Linked DNA regions of Homo sapiens: all the other regions are linked to region 3. The links are contacts of gene promoters, found by promoter capture Hi-C in blood cells and fetal thymus (Javierre and others, 2016). All regions are on one chromosome and are shown on one strand. The core of a region is centred on a gene start or on the middle of the fragment in contact, and the rest is flanking DNA. Distances in the headings are between cores, read along the strand shown.

Region 1 (4,088 bases), core at 1,223-3,722, 570 kb before region 3:
CATCAATGGCTTGCTTGCATTATACAGCATTTTTCTTGTTTCCTGTTAACTCAGATACCCACACTGTTTTGTTCTAAATACACGTTCAATTAACCATTATATTCTAATAGTGTTTTCCTTTTAATGAGACAAGGTCTTAGTTGCCCAGGCTGGAGTGTGGTGGCACAATCTTGGCTCACTGCAACCTCCACTTCATGGGCTCAAGTGATCCTCCCACTTCAGCCTCCTCAGTAGCTGGGACTACAGGCACGTGCCATCATGCTCAGCTAATTTTTGTATTTTTTGTAAACACAAGGTCTCACTATGTTGCCCAGGCTGGTCTCGAACTCCTGAGCTCAAATGATCCTCCTGCCTTGGCCTCCCAAAGTGCTGGGATTACCAGAGTGAGCCACCACGTGTGATCCCATCAGGTTCTTAAACAAATTAAACCACTATATCAGGTCATTAAACCACTTGTCTTGAAATAGTTAAAAAGGGGGTTATGGGGAGGGGATTACCAAAGAGGTGGGAGGGGATGGGAGAAAAGCAATAATGATAGTTTTCAGCTGTACTAAAAAACACCAGACACCTATCCCTTATTAGCACATATCTGTTTGTAAATGTCTGTTTGCTGACGAATTTGATATTCCAAGTCAGAAACATGAGCCTGAAGCCAGTTCCAGCAGCTGACAATAGCTGCCCGGTCTGCAGCCCATCTCCATTCTGACCTGTGTCTCCTAAAAAGAAATAAATTGAGTGAAGTCCAAGAGTAGTAGTAATATCTATACCAGACTTGGGGGTGGAGGGTGGAATTTAACTTCTAAAGGCCCTTGCAGAGACTAACTCTAGTGTCAAGAAAAACCCAAAACAGACAGAGACAGATACCCCCCACTCCTCAGGATGCACATGGATATAAACTTTCAAATAGGTATTTCCCAAATTAAGTGGAACTGCCTTCTACCATCCTGATCCTGCGGCACACGGTTTCTCTGAAATTGCATTAATTTCTCTAGAGATAAAAATATTGTCCATGTTAAAATAAAACATATATTAAGAATAATCTATACAGGAAATCCAACTGACAATAAGAACTATTAAAACTAATAAAGAATTTAGCAAAAGTGTTCAGTAAAGAATATTTGAAAACTAATAAAAAAGTAGAAAATATTCATTTTTTAAGTATCATTCATAACAACGACAAAACTAATGATATATTTAAAATCTTTATAGAGAAAACAGTAATGCCTGAAAGCATGAAGCTCTATACAAATGGTAGGATACATTTTTTAAGGATGGTGATTCTCATGAACATCTATAAATTCAAAGAAATTCCAGTCAAATTGCCTACAGTATTTTTAATGAAAGCTGAGAAACAGATCCAAAAGTTCACATGACATAAAGGACCAACAGCAAGAAATTTGGAAGAAGGCATGATGCAAATACACATTACCAGATAGCCAGATTTGCTGCAAAACTGTAGAGAGCCTCAAAACGTAGAACTAGATACATAAAAGATACCGGGAAATTTTCTTTTAATCAGATCAGTGGGGAAAAAATGAAACTATTCAATAGTACTAAACTGGCCAGTTCTTTAGAAGGAAAAAGTAAAATTAGTTCCCTTCTTCATGATATAATTACAAAATTTTGGCACTTCAAATTGCTAAACATGAACAGCCAAACTTAAAAGAACATCTTCGGGACTTAGAGCAGGAAGTATTTCTTAGATAAGACACAAAAATATCACCTACTTTTCAACATGCAATAGAAAATCTAATAAAATTAAAAGGCAAACTGTACTTTGGTGGAAGATATCTAATACATATAACTGAAGATTAAACATCAGAATATGTAACAGAACTCTCAGAAATAGATTAAGAGAGGCCGGGCATAGTGGCTCACAACCTGTAATCCCAGCACTTTGGGAGGCGGAGGCAGGCAGATCACCTGAGGTTGGGAGTTCGAAACCAACATGAACAACATGGAGAAATCCCGTCTCTACTAAAAATGCAAAATTAGTCGGTCGTGGTGGAGCATGCCTGTAATCCCAGCTACACAGGAGGCTGAGGCAGGAGAATCACTTGAACCCAGGAAGTGGAGGTTGTGGTGAGCCAACATCATGCCATTGCACTCCAGCCTGGGCAAGAAGAGCAAAACTCTGTCTCAAAAAAAAAAGAAACAGGTCAAAAGAAAAAATGACAATCTTAATAGAAATAGAAAATTCACATAAAAGGCAAATAATTAATAAATATATAGAAATGTGTCATCTCATTAAAATTTAGTTAAAATGTAAATATTAGGTAAAACATTAAGATGCTGTTTCAAATCTGGATGGGAAAACACGTAGTCCGATAAAGCCAACAGGTGGTGAGAAATGGATAAGTACAATTCATACATTGCTGGTAACAGTTAAAACTGGCAACACCATTTTTGAACAATAATTTGGAAGTACTTGGCTAGGCGTAAAATGTGCATACCCAATCATCATGATATTCTATTTCATTTTTCTTTTGTTTGTTTCTCCTTTTCTGAGAGGCAGGGTCTCACACTCTATCATTGAGGCTGGATTATGGTGGTGCAATCATAGCTCACTGTAACCTAGCGTTCCTTTGCTTAAGCTATCCTCCCACCTCAGTCTCCCAAGCAGCTAGGATCAGGAGCATACTACTGTACCTGGCTAATTTTTTTTTTTTTTTTTTTTTGAGACCGAGTTTCGCTCTTCTTGCCCAGGCTGGAGTGCAATGGCACAATCTCGGCTCTTTGCAACCTCCGTCTCCTGGGTTCAAGCAATTCTCCTGCCTCAGCCTCCTGAGTAGCTGGGATTACAGGCATGCACCACCACACGCGGCTAATTTTGTATTTTTAGTAGAGACGGGGTTTCTCCATGTTGGTCAGGCTGGTCTCAAACTCCTGACCTCAGGTGATCCGCCCACCTCAGCCTCCCAAAGTGCAGGCATGAGCCACTGCACCCGGCCCTGGTTAATTTTTAATAAAAAATTTTGTAGAGATGGGGTCTTGCTGCGGTGTCCAGGTTGCCCTCAAACTCCTGACCTTTGGCCTCCCAAAGACATGAGCCACTATGCCCAGCCATGAAATTCTGTTTCTGAGAACATAAACTATACATTCCTCTGAATGAGGAAACAGGTTCACTGGAGTAGAGTCTCTAACAGCTAAAAACTAATTATATTATAATTCTGTTGAAGTTGGTAAATAGACTATATTCATTTAACAGATCTTTCTATAGTAATAAAAATAAAATTAACTATATGTATCAACATGACTCAATCTCAGAACATATTGTTGAATGAAACAATAAAAAAATACTAAACAAGATTAAGTACACACAAGTAGTAAAGGAATTTGACGAAATACTATCTAGCAATTTAATTACTGTATGTATCAACATGACCTAATCTCAGAAATGAGGAATGCAAAAGCTGAATGAAAACAAAAATAATAAACAGATAAACATTAATAAGCATTGTTACCAATACAGATAAGGGATGAATATATTTTAAAATGCACAGAGCTGATATACAACAAATTTACAATCAAGCTCCTCATTAGCTCTGGAAAGGGGATGGAGAGGTTGGATTTTAGCTCTACTTATAATGTAATGTTTGACTTCTCATGTAAAAACAAAAGATAGAAATGTGACAACATTAACATTCTTTAAATATTAAGACTGGGGTTACATGGTGTCTACTGTATTCCGTAATCAAAATACTTCATAATCCACCACAAAACTGTTTTCCCAGAAAGCAGCAGCAGTCACACAGCCCTCAGCCCCACTTCCCATCAGGATACACACACTCACTACTAAAACTTGTGACTATAGGTGAACTTGAACACAGTCTCCCATAGGGGCAAAATACAAAATGTCAAAAATAAAAAAGAACAAATCTGACCGCAACAGGGTAAGACGTAAATTAAAACTTAATCATACCATAATAATTAAGACCAAGGATAGCAATGGTATTTTAACTTTTGTATGGACCAAACATAAACCATTCAAATCAACCACTGTGATAAAGTATTATCAATTATGTCTCTTCTTTTAGAAAGAAGACATTTTACAGTTCCCTAATTTTGGTGGAACCTCTTCAAGATAA
Region 2 (4,287 bases), core at 1,333-3,832, 520 kb before region 3:
CCTGGGAGGTGGAGGTTGTGGTAAGCTGAGATTGTGCCACTGCACTCCAGCCTGGGCAACAAGAGCGAAACTCCATCTCAAAAAAAAAAAAAATTAAATTAAAAAAGTGGGGTGAATGAATGTATGAATGTGGCTGCAGAACTTTAACAAATATCATGGTCATAAGAATGTGAGAATAGGTAGTGCCAACGTCTGCTTGCTAAACTCATCTACGCAATGATCTAATGGTGGCCAAATATTCTGCCCACAGGACTGAGACCCTAAATACTAGTTCCCGAAAAGAGAAAAGCTTACTCTCTTACCTGACAATTTCTTCAAATAAACCACTCAAAAATTTAAAACAACCTGTTCTACAATAAGTTCAGAAGAATTCCTATTTTTAAAAAAGTGTTCAACTTCACCAAAAGGTGTCAAGAGATTTAATTTTGAATTGAATAAATAAGGTGATGACAACAAAAAATAATTTTAAGTAGACACATTATCTCTCCATTTTTTCCGTAGTAGCTAACTATAAAAGAAGTTACTGTCAACTTTTTTTTCTTGCCCTGTCTTACGGTGCTGGACTATGTCCATTTTTAAGAAAATTATCATGGTCAATGTCATTATAGTCAATAGAGAATTAGAATTCTACTCTCCCCAAGATAGTGACATTTCAAACTAACAATTTCCTCACATTGTATGACCATTCCCACAAAAGCTAAACTTGCTAGGGGGAAAAAAAGAGAGAAGCTGAGGGGAGGGAGAAGGGGAAAGGGATGAGAGGATGAGAACAAGAACTTAAGGTACCGTACTTACACAGAAGCTAATAAATGCGATTTTAAAAAGCAAACAAACATAATGTACATATCTTTTCTCCTGTTAAAGTAAAATTTATTTATTTTCTTTTAAGAGATGGAGTCTCATTCTGTTGCCCAGGCTGGAGTGCAGTATCACCTTCTTAGCTCACAGCAGCCTTGCACTCCTGGGCTCAAGTGATCCTTGTGCTTCAGCCTCCCAAGTAGCCAGGACCACAGGTGTGCACCACCATGCCAGGCTAATTTTTAAATTTTTTTTGTAGAGATGGGGTCTCGCTATGTTGCCCAGGCTGGTCTCCAACTCCTGACCTTAAGTGATTCACCTGCCTCGGCCTCCTAAAGCGCTGGCATTACAGGCATGAGCCACTGCAACTGGCCAGGAGATATCTTACTTGAGTCACAGAACAACCCTATGAGGTAAGCAAGTAGTACATGACATTCATAAAATAAAAGCTCAGAGCAATGAAGTGACTTGTGCAAGGGATAAGGGCAATTCTGTGATTTTTTATGCTAAGCCAAATGGGTAGTATTTTTGGGTGTAATAGGCTCCAGAATACTGTTTCAACACAAAAAAGGACCAATTTTTATCACAGCAATTAAATCAATAACAAACATATTTCAAAAGGGAGATTAATAGAGTATTAATGTTTAGAAAGCTACTTACTACTCCAATGTGGCAAAGTAAAACTGAACTTTGAGGGTTGATATCAAGCGCTTTTTGGAAATGCATTTCTGCAAGGCTGAATTTTTCTTGCTTGTAATAAATCATTCCTAAACCATACCTGAAAGTATAAAACAAAGTATAATTTTAAAAATATAAAGTTTAGGTTGCTAATTTAGTTCAATTAGTAAAAGAACAAGTATAGAATCTGGCATTTTAATAATCCAGTGGAATACTGGTGGTCTTAGAGGAGAGGCAAAAAATACCAGTTATGATAAAAATCATTAAAGCATTTTATTTACTTATTTTTAAATAAAAAAATTTTTTTTTGAATTAGGGTCTCACTCTGTCACCCAGGCTGGAGTGCAGTGGGCCAATCATAGCTCACTGCATCCTTGAACTTCCGGGTTCAAAGAATCCTCCAGCCTCAGCCTCCAGAGTAGCTGAGACTACAGGCATGAACCACAATGCCTAGCCATTAAAGCAGTTTATTATTATTATTATTATTATTATTATTATTATTATTATATTTTAAAGATAGCACCTCACTCTGTTGCCTAGGCTGGAGTGCAGTGGCTCAATCACGGCTCACTGCAGCCTTGACCTCCCAGGCTCAAGTGATCAATCCTCCCACCTCAGCATCCTGAGTAGCTGCAACTACAGGTGCACGCCACCAGGCATGGCTAATTTTTGTATTTTTTGTAGAGATGGGGTTTTGCCATGTTGCCCAGGCGCATATATATATATATATATATATATATATATATATATATATACACACACACACACACACACACACACATACATATACACACACACACACACACACACAAACACACACACACAAATATACATATATATATATATATATATATATATATATAATATATATGTATTTTTTTGAGACAGAGTTTTGCTCTTGTTGCCCAGGCTGGAGTGCAATGGTGCAATCTCGGCTCACCACAACCTCCACCCACAGGTTCAAGCAATTCTCCTGCCTCAGCCTCCCGAGTAGCTGGGGATTACAGGCATGCACCATCACGCCCGGCTAATTTTGTATTTTTAGCAGAGACGGGGTTTCTCCATGTTGGTCAGGCTGGTCTTGAACTCCTGACCTCAGGTGATCCGCCCGCCTTGGCCTCCCAAAGTGCTGGGACTACAGGTGTGAGTCATGGTGCCAAGCTGTTTTTTTGTTTTTTTTTTGAGACGGAGTTTCGCTCTTGTTGCCCAGGCTGTAGTGCAATGGCATGATCACAGCTCACCACAACCTCCGCCTCCCAGGTTCAAGCGTTTCTCCTGCCTCAGCCTTCCGAGTAGCTGGGATTACAGGCATGCGCCACCACACCCAGCTAATTTTGTATTTTTAGTAAAGACAGGGTTTCTCCATGTTGGTCAGGCTGGTCTCGAACTCCCGACTCAGGTGATCCGCCCGCCTCGGCCTCGGCCTCCCAAAGTGGTGGGATTACAGGCATGAGCCACCACACCTGGCCTACATATATTTTTTTTCTTTTTTGAGACAGTCTTGCTTTTTGTCACCCAGGTTGGAGTGCAGTGGTGCAATCTCAGCTCACTGCAACCTCTGCCTCCTGGGTTCAAGCGATTTTCGTGCCTCAGCCTCCCAAGTAGCTGGGATTACAGGCATGTGTCACCACGCCCAGCTAATTTTCTTGTATTTTTAGTAGAGACGAGGTTTCCCCATGTTGGCCAGGCTGGTCTTGAACTCCTGGCCTTAAGTGATCTGCTTGTCCCAGCCTACCAAAGTGCCGGGATTGCAGGTGTGAGCTACCACCCCCAGCCTTCTTATATTAACATATTTTTAATTTTTTGTGGAGACGAGGTCTCACTATGTTGACCAAGCTGGTTTCAAACTCTTAGCCTCAAACAATCCTCCCACCTTGGCCTCCCAAACGCTAGGATTACAGGCATGAGCCACCATGCCCAGACCATTAAAACATTTTAAAGAGTCACTTTTACAAGCAAAAACAATCAAATCAAATCAAATCAAACTATGATAATAAGGAAAAAAGAAACCACACCCCTAAACCCATATAGATTTTTTTTTTTTTTTTAATTCAACGTCTTGCTCTGTCGCCCGGGCTGGAGTGCAATGGCGTGATCATAGCTCACTGCAGGTAACCTTGAACTCTTAGGCTCACGCAATCCTCCCACCTCAGCCTCCTGAGTAGTTAGGACTACAGGCATACACCACCATGCCTAATTGTTTTTTTTTTGTTTTGTTTTGTTTTGTTTTGTTTTTGAGATGGAGTCTCACTCTGTTGCCATGCTGGAGTGCAGTGGCACAACCTCCACCTCCCAGGTTCAAGTGGTTTTCCTGCCTCAGTCTCCCAAGCAGCTGGGACTACAGGCACGCATCACCACACCCAGCTAATTTTTGTATTTTTAGTAGAGGCGGGGTTTCACCATGTTGGCCAGGATGGTCTTGATCTCTTGACCTCATGATTCGCCCATCTCAGCCTCCCAAAGTGCTGGGATTACAGGCGTGAGCCACCGTGCCCGGCCTTAATTGTTTTCTTTTTTTTTTTTTTTTTTTGTTAGGGAAGGGGTCTTGCTATGTTGACCAGGCTGGTCTCAAACTCCTGGTCTCAAGTAATCTTCCAGCTTCAGCTTCCTAAAGTGCTGGGCTTATAGGTATGAGCCACCATACCTGTCATATTCTAGATTTAACAGCTAATTTTTACTGAGTAGTTATTACATGTGTGCCAAGACCATTGCTAAATTATCTCATTTAATCCCTAGAGGAATCATAGGTACCATTATCATCCTTATTTCGAATAAGGAAACTGAAACTTAGAGAAGTTAAATAACTTGCTT
Region 3 (4,370 bases), core at 649-3,148:
TGAAGTCTTGGCTCACTGCAACCTCTGCCTCCCGGGTTCAAGAGATTCTGTCTCAGCCTCCTGAGGAGCTGAGATTATAGGCGTGCGCCACCACGCTCGGCTAGGTTTTTTTTTTTTTTTTGTATTTTTAGTAGAGACAGGGTTTCACCATGTTGGCCAGACTGGTCTTGAACTCCTGACCTCAAGTGATCCGCCCGCCTCGGCCTCCCAAAGTGCTGGGATTACAGGCATGAGCCACCGCGCCCGGCCCTATTATTACACTTTTCCTTTATCATTTTAAAAATCTTCATTTTTTTTAAAAGAGACAGGATCTCGCTAAGTTGTCCAGGTTAGTCTTGAACCCCTGGGCTCAAGCGATCCTCCCAAAGTCCTGGGATTGCAGGCCTGAGCCACATACTGTATGCACATTTTTTTTCTTTTCTTTGAGATGGAGTCTCGCTCTGTCGCCAGGCTGGACTGCAGTGGCGCGATATCGGCTCACTGCAACCTCTGCGTCCAGGGTTCAAGCGATTCTCCTGCCTCAGCCTCAGGAATAGCTTGGACTTCAGGTACGCGCCACCACACCGGGCTAATTTTTTATATTTTAGTAGAGACGGGGTTTCACCATGTTGGCCAGGATGGTCTCGATCTCTTGACTCGTCATCCGCCCCCCTCGGCCTCCCAAAGTGCTGGGATTACAGGCGCGAGCCACAGCGCCCGGCCCACGTTTTCTTTATATGCATTTTGCTAAGAAAAGGCATTCATGAGTTTCTTCCGGGGTTGAGAACTGAAACAGGTTAAGAACCACAATCCTTTATTCCTGTACACACATTCTTTCTGGTTCGAGGTTGGGCCTTTACAGGGTACTTTTGGAGGGTGAAACATTTCCATCCTGTCAAGTACCTGGTAGCTATGGATGGGGGGTCTAAGAGGAGGAATCCCTTAGCTCACCCCTAAGCAAGTCAGATTTATCACAGCACAGGTCTCAAGCCCCATATAAGCAGGCTTAGGGGACTCCTTGGAGAGGAAGCTGCTTGTAGGGACAAGGGCCGTCAGGAGAGCTTGAGCTTATCAAGCCACTAACCAGCTGTGTGACCTTGGACAAGTTCCAGACCCTCTCTGGGCTCCTGAACCCATTCCTTACCAAGCCATTAACCAGCTGTGTGACCTTGGACAAGTTCCATACCCTCTCTGGGCTTCAGTTTCCACATCTACACATTGGCAGTGGAGCCACATGGCCTTACGGATCCCTCCCAGCCGAAAGCAGGGTACCAAGCCGACCTAGCCATTAAAGCAGCTTCCTGTGGGCGCGGCGCAGGACTTCAACAGTCCCCCCTCCCCCGCTCAGGCCCGCGAAAACCTCGCGCAACACGCCCCTCGGAGCGACGGCGCTTACCCAACCGCAGCCCCAGCGCTCGAACCCAGCTCCGCCTCTTCCCGGGGGCGTCCCATCGTGCCCCGCGCCGGGCTCCTAGGGTTGCCGGGCACCTCCCGCCTTCCCGCGCCCCGACCCCGAACTCCTCTCCTTAGTTCTCCCGGGCACCCTATCCTATCAACGCCTACTATCCCAGCCAATCGCGCAGGATCCGAGTCGTGCCTCCGGTCCACCCTCCTCCCAGCGCTCAGCCGGTCTGAGCTCAAGGCCTTTACCAAGCCCACCCAATCAACGGCGGGCTCTCTCCTACCCCATCCCAATCTCCCTCCCCTCGGCCAATCCGCGCGCTCCATTCCGCTGCCCGCCCAGCCAACCCGGGCCTTGAAACCAGCAGGCGAATGGGCGCGAGACGGCCCTTCGACGCTGAGCGCCTGGCCAGTTAGGGATTCCGCGTGGCCAGGACAACGGCCAATCGTCGTGGAGCGCGGCGCCTCCGCGGAGAGGTCCGGTCCGAATATCCCTCCGCCTTCCTCCCTCCCTCGCTCCCTCCCTGCGCGCCGCCTCTCACTCACAGCCTCCCTTCCTTCTTTCTCCCTCCGCCTCCCGAGCACCAGCGCGCTCTGAGCTGCCCCCAGGGTCCCTCCCCCGCCGCCAGCAGCCCATTTGGAGGGAGGAAGTAAGGGAAGAGGAGAGGAAGGGGAGCCGGACCGACTACCCAGACAGAGCCGGTGAATGGGTTTGTGGTGACCCCCGCCCCCCACCCCACCCTCCCTTCCCACCCGACCCCCAACCCCCATCCCCAGTTCGAGCCGCCGCCCGAAAGGCCGGGCCGTCGTCTTAGGAGGAGTCGCCGCCGCCGCCACCTCCGCCATGGAGCTGATCACCATTCTCGAGAAGACCGTGTCTCCCGGTAGGACGCAGGAGCCGGGGGTAGGGCTGAGGTGATTGGGGTGGGGGAGGGGAGGCCCGGCCCCTCTGACCCCGCTCCGTCTCCCACTTTCCTCCCCCTAGATCGGCTGGAGCTGGAAGCGGCGCAGAAGTTCCTGGAGCGTGCGGCCGTGGAGAACCTGGTGCGTGCTACCCCGCCGCGCCCATCCCGCCGCGTCCCCATCCCCTGCGTGCGGGGCCTTCCCGCCCTCCCGGAGGCCCAGGCCTCGGGAACCTACCCCGCCCCATCCCGTCCCCCTCCCCCCTCCCCCTCCCCCCCCAACCCGGTCCAACCTAACCCCGCCATCGGGAAGCCGGTGGGTGTGTCCCGCCCCGGGCCTCGCGACTGGCCAATGGCTTGGCGCGCCGAGCTGCCTGCCGCCCAATCGTTGCGCGGCCTGAGGGCGGCGGTGCAGCGGGAGGGAGAAAGAGGGAGGGAAGGGAAGTTAGGTTGCGCGGCGCTGCGTGTTCAGCAGGGGTGGGGGCGGGGGAGTCGGGCCTAGGGGCCATGTGGAAGCTCCGGGCCCGGCCGCCCGCCCTGTCTGACCCCGGCCGGCTTCTCCTTCCTATCCCGTGGCCCCTGTGGCTCTCCCCACCTATTTCCTAGAGCTCTGCCCTTTCCTAGCTACCTTGGTCTGTACTCATGGCCAGGCCTGGCACCCGACTGCCTCTTAACCCATTTCCACTGATATTTTTCCCTCTTTGCTCGGTTATTCCTCTCTTGGGGTTTTTTCTTTTTCTTTCTTTCTTTTTTTTTTTTCTTCTGACCTGGATGAATAGAGACCTAATCACTAGGGATCTGCACCCAGAAAACAGACTGAGGCTCATCTTTGAGATGGGGCCTGTTTGCTGATGAAATCACAGGGGAAAGTTCCTCGTTTTTCATATTTTAAAATTTAAGGGGTCCGGAGAAAATGAAGCTAAGTCCGCTAGAGACTGGTCCTTTGTATAAAAATGTGGGATGGATTGGTTGAAACAGCCTAGATGCCAGTTAAGTTTCTCTTTGGTGTCCATCTCCTGTTGGGGGATGGGGTCAGAGGGAAGGATTGGATGATGCTTGACATCTTTGAGAAAGGTAATAGGAATTAAGTCTGAGTAACACTAACCATATGTGTTCCTTTGTGTTATATAGGCAAAATGTCAACATCAACAAAGTGACAAGGCTTATTTTATACAGACTGCCTTTGAATGATTTTTTTGTTGTTTTTCATATGTGCCAATTTTTACAACTAACCTGTTTATCCTTTCCTAGAAGAGATTTTTCCACTAGTATAGGCTGATAATTCCATTTAGGGTATTATTCCTGTTTCTGCTTTTGCAAATTTTGCAAAAAGCTTTTTATCTTATTCCTAACATTCTTAACATTCTTTAGTGGTACATAATTAATAAAACTTTTAAGAATTATCTTCTGCTGTGATTGCAGAGCTTGTTAGCAGTAAGAAAAATGTGTCTGCTTTTGACTTTTCCTGCTAACTTTGCTGTTTGGGCACGGTTTTTGGTGGAGAGGTGTGTGTGTGCTAAATTTTTAAACAAAGGGAGTAGTTTTTGAGGCCTGTGGATTACAAAAGGTTACAAAAGAACATGCTTTTCAGGGATCCACTGTATTCCTCAACTAAAGTCCAAATGTAAAGGAGCAAGTAATTGTTGATCATTAGATACAAAGTTATTTTGCTTGAACAGCTTGCCTGAAGATTTTTTCTTTCACTTTTTCCCTATTTCTAAATATCTTATCACTTTTCCTTATAAATCTGCTTTTTTCATTGTTCCCTTTTTGCTGAGTGCCCACAAATAAAACGGAGGATGAGGCTCCTAAGTTTGTTTTAGGCTTATCTGTATTTCCCCCTCTCATAAAAGATCACCTCCTTCCATGGATTGAAAAGCTACCCTGCTGCTGCCATGAGATGGAAAGTTGGATCATTCTTTTGGGACCAAGGTTTTTGAAATTTAGATAAACAGTTTTATTTTCTACCCCCCATCATAACAGCCATTCATTTAACAAACATTGAGTACCAGACATTATTAAAAGTTCTTGGGACACCTCAGTATACATAGAAGACTGACTACTACTACCATACTCTGAAACCTTGCA

What was found. Contacts are between HindIII fragments. The CHiCAGO score rates a contact against its expected background, and 5 or more counts as called.
Region 1: a contact is called between a fragment that was not itself captured here and the fragment with the promoter of KPNB1 in region 3, in 1 of 17 cell types (erythroblasts). The highest score is 5.5, in erythroblasts.
Region 2: a contact is called between a fragment that was not itself captured here and the fragment with the promoter of KPNB1 in region 3, in 2 of 17 cell types (erythroblasts and megakaryocytes). The highest score is 7.4, in erythroblasts.

The regions. Positions count from the first base shown.
Region 1 is chr17:47,080,217-47,084,304 of GRCh38, forward strand. The region is part of intron 1 of LOC101927060 (a long non-coding RNA gene); the gene reads right to left. Among named protein-coding and RNA genes, the nearest start is that of RPRML, 100 kb to the left of the region's middle. The HindIII fragment of the contact is 5,157 bases long and covers 1-4,088 here.
Region 2 is chr17:47,130,799-47,135,085 of GRCh38, forward strand. It overlaps CDC27 (cell division cycle 27), which reads right to left. Exons shown (of 19, transcript NM_001256.6): 15 at 1,459-1,576. Among named protein-coding and RNA genes, the nearest start is that of CDC27, 56 kb to the right of the region's middle. The HindIII fragment of the contact is 4,591 bases long and covers 288-4,287 here.
Region 3 is chr17:47,648,021-47,652,390 of GRCh38, forward strand. KPNB1 (karyopherin subunit beta 1) reads left to right here and starts at 1,899. Exons shown (of 22, transcript NM_002265.6): 1 at 1,899-2,264; 2 at 2,366-2,424. The coding sequence starts at 2,225. It overlaps KPNB1-DT (KPNB1 divergent transcript), which reads right to left and starts at 1,408. Exons shown (of 4, transcript NR_171700.1): 1 at 1,376-1,408. RefSeq lists an enhancer at 54-899 and silencers at 1,300-1,569, 1,580-1,629, 1,640-1,819, 2,250-2,319, 2,430-2,569 and 1 more. The HindIII fragment of the contact is 6,441 bases long and covers 1-3,613 here.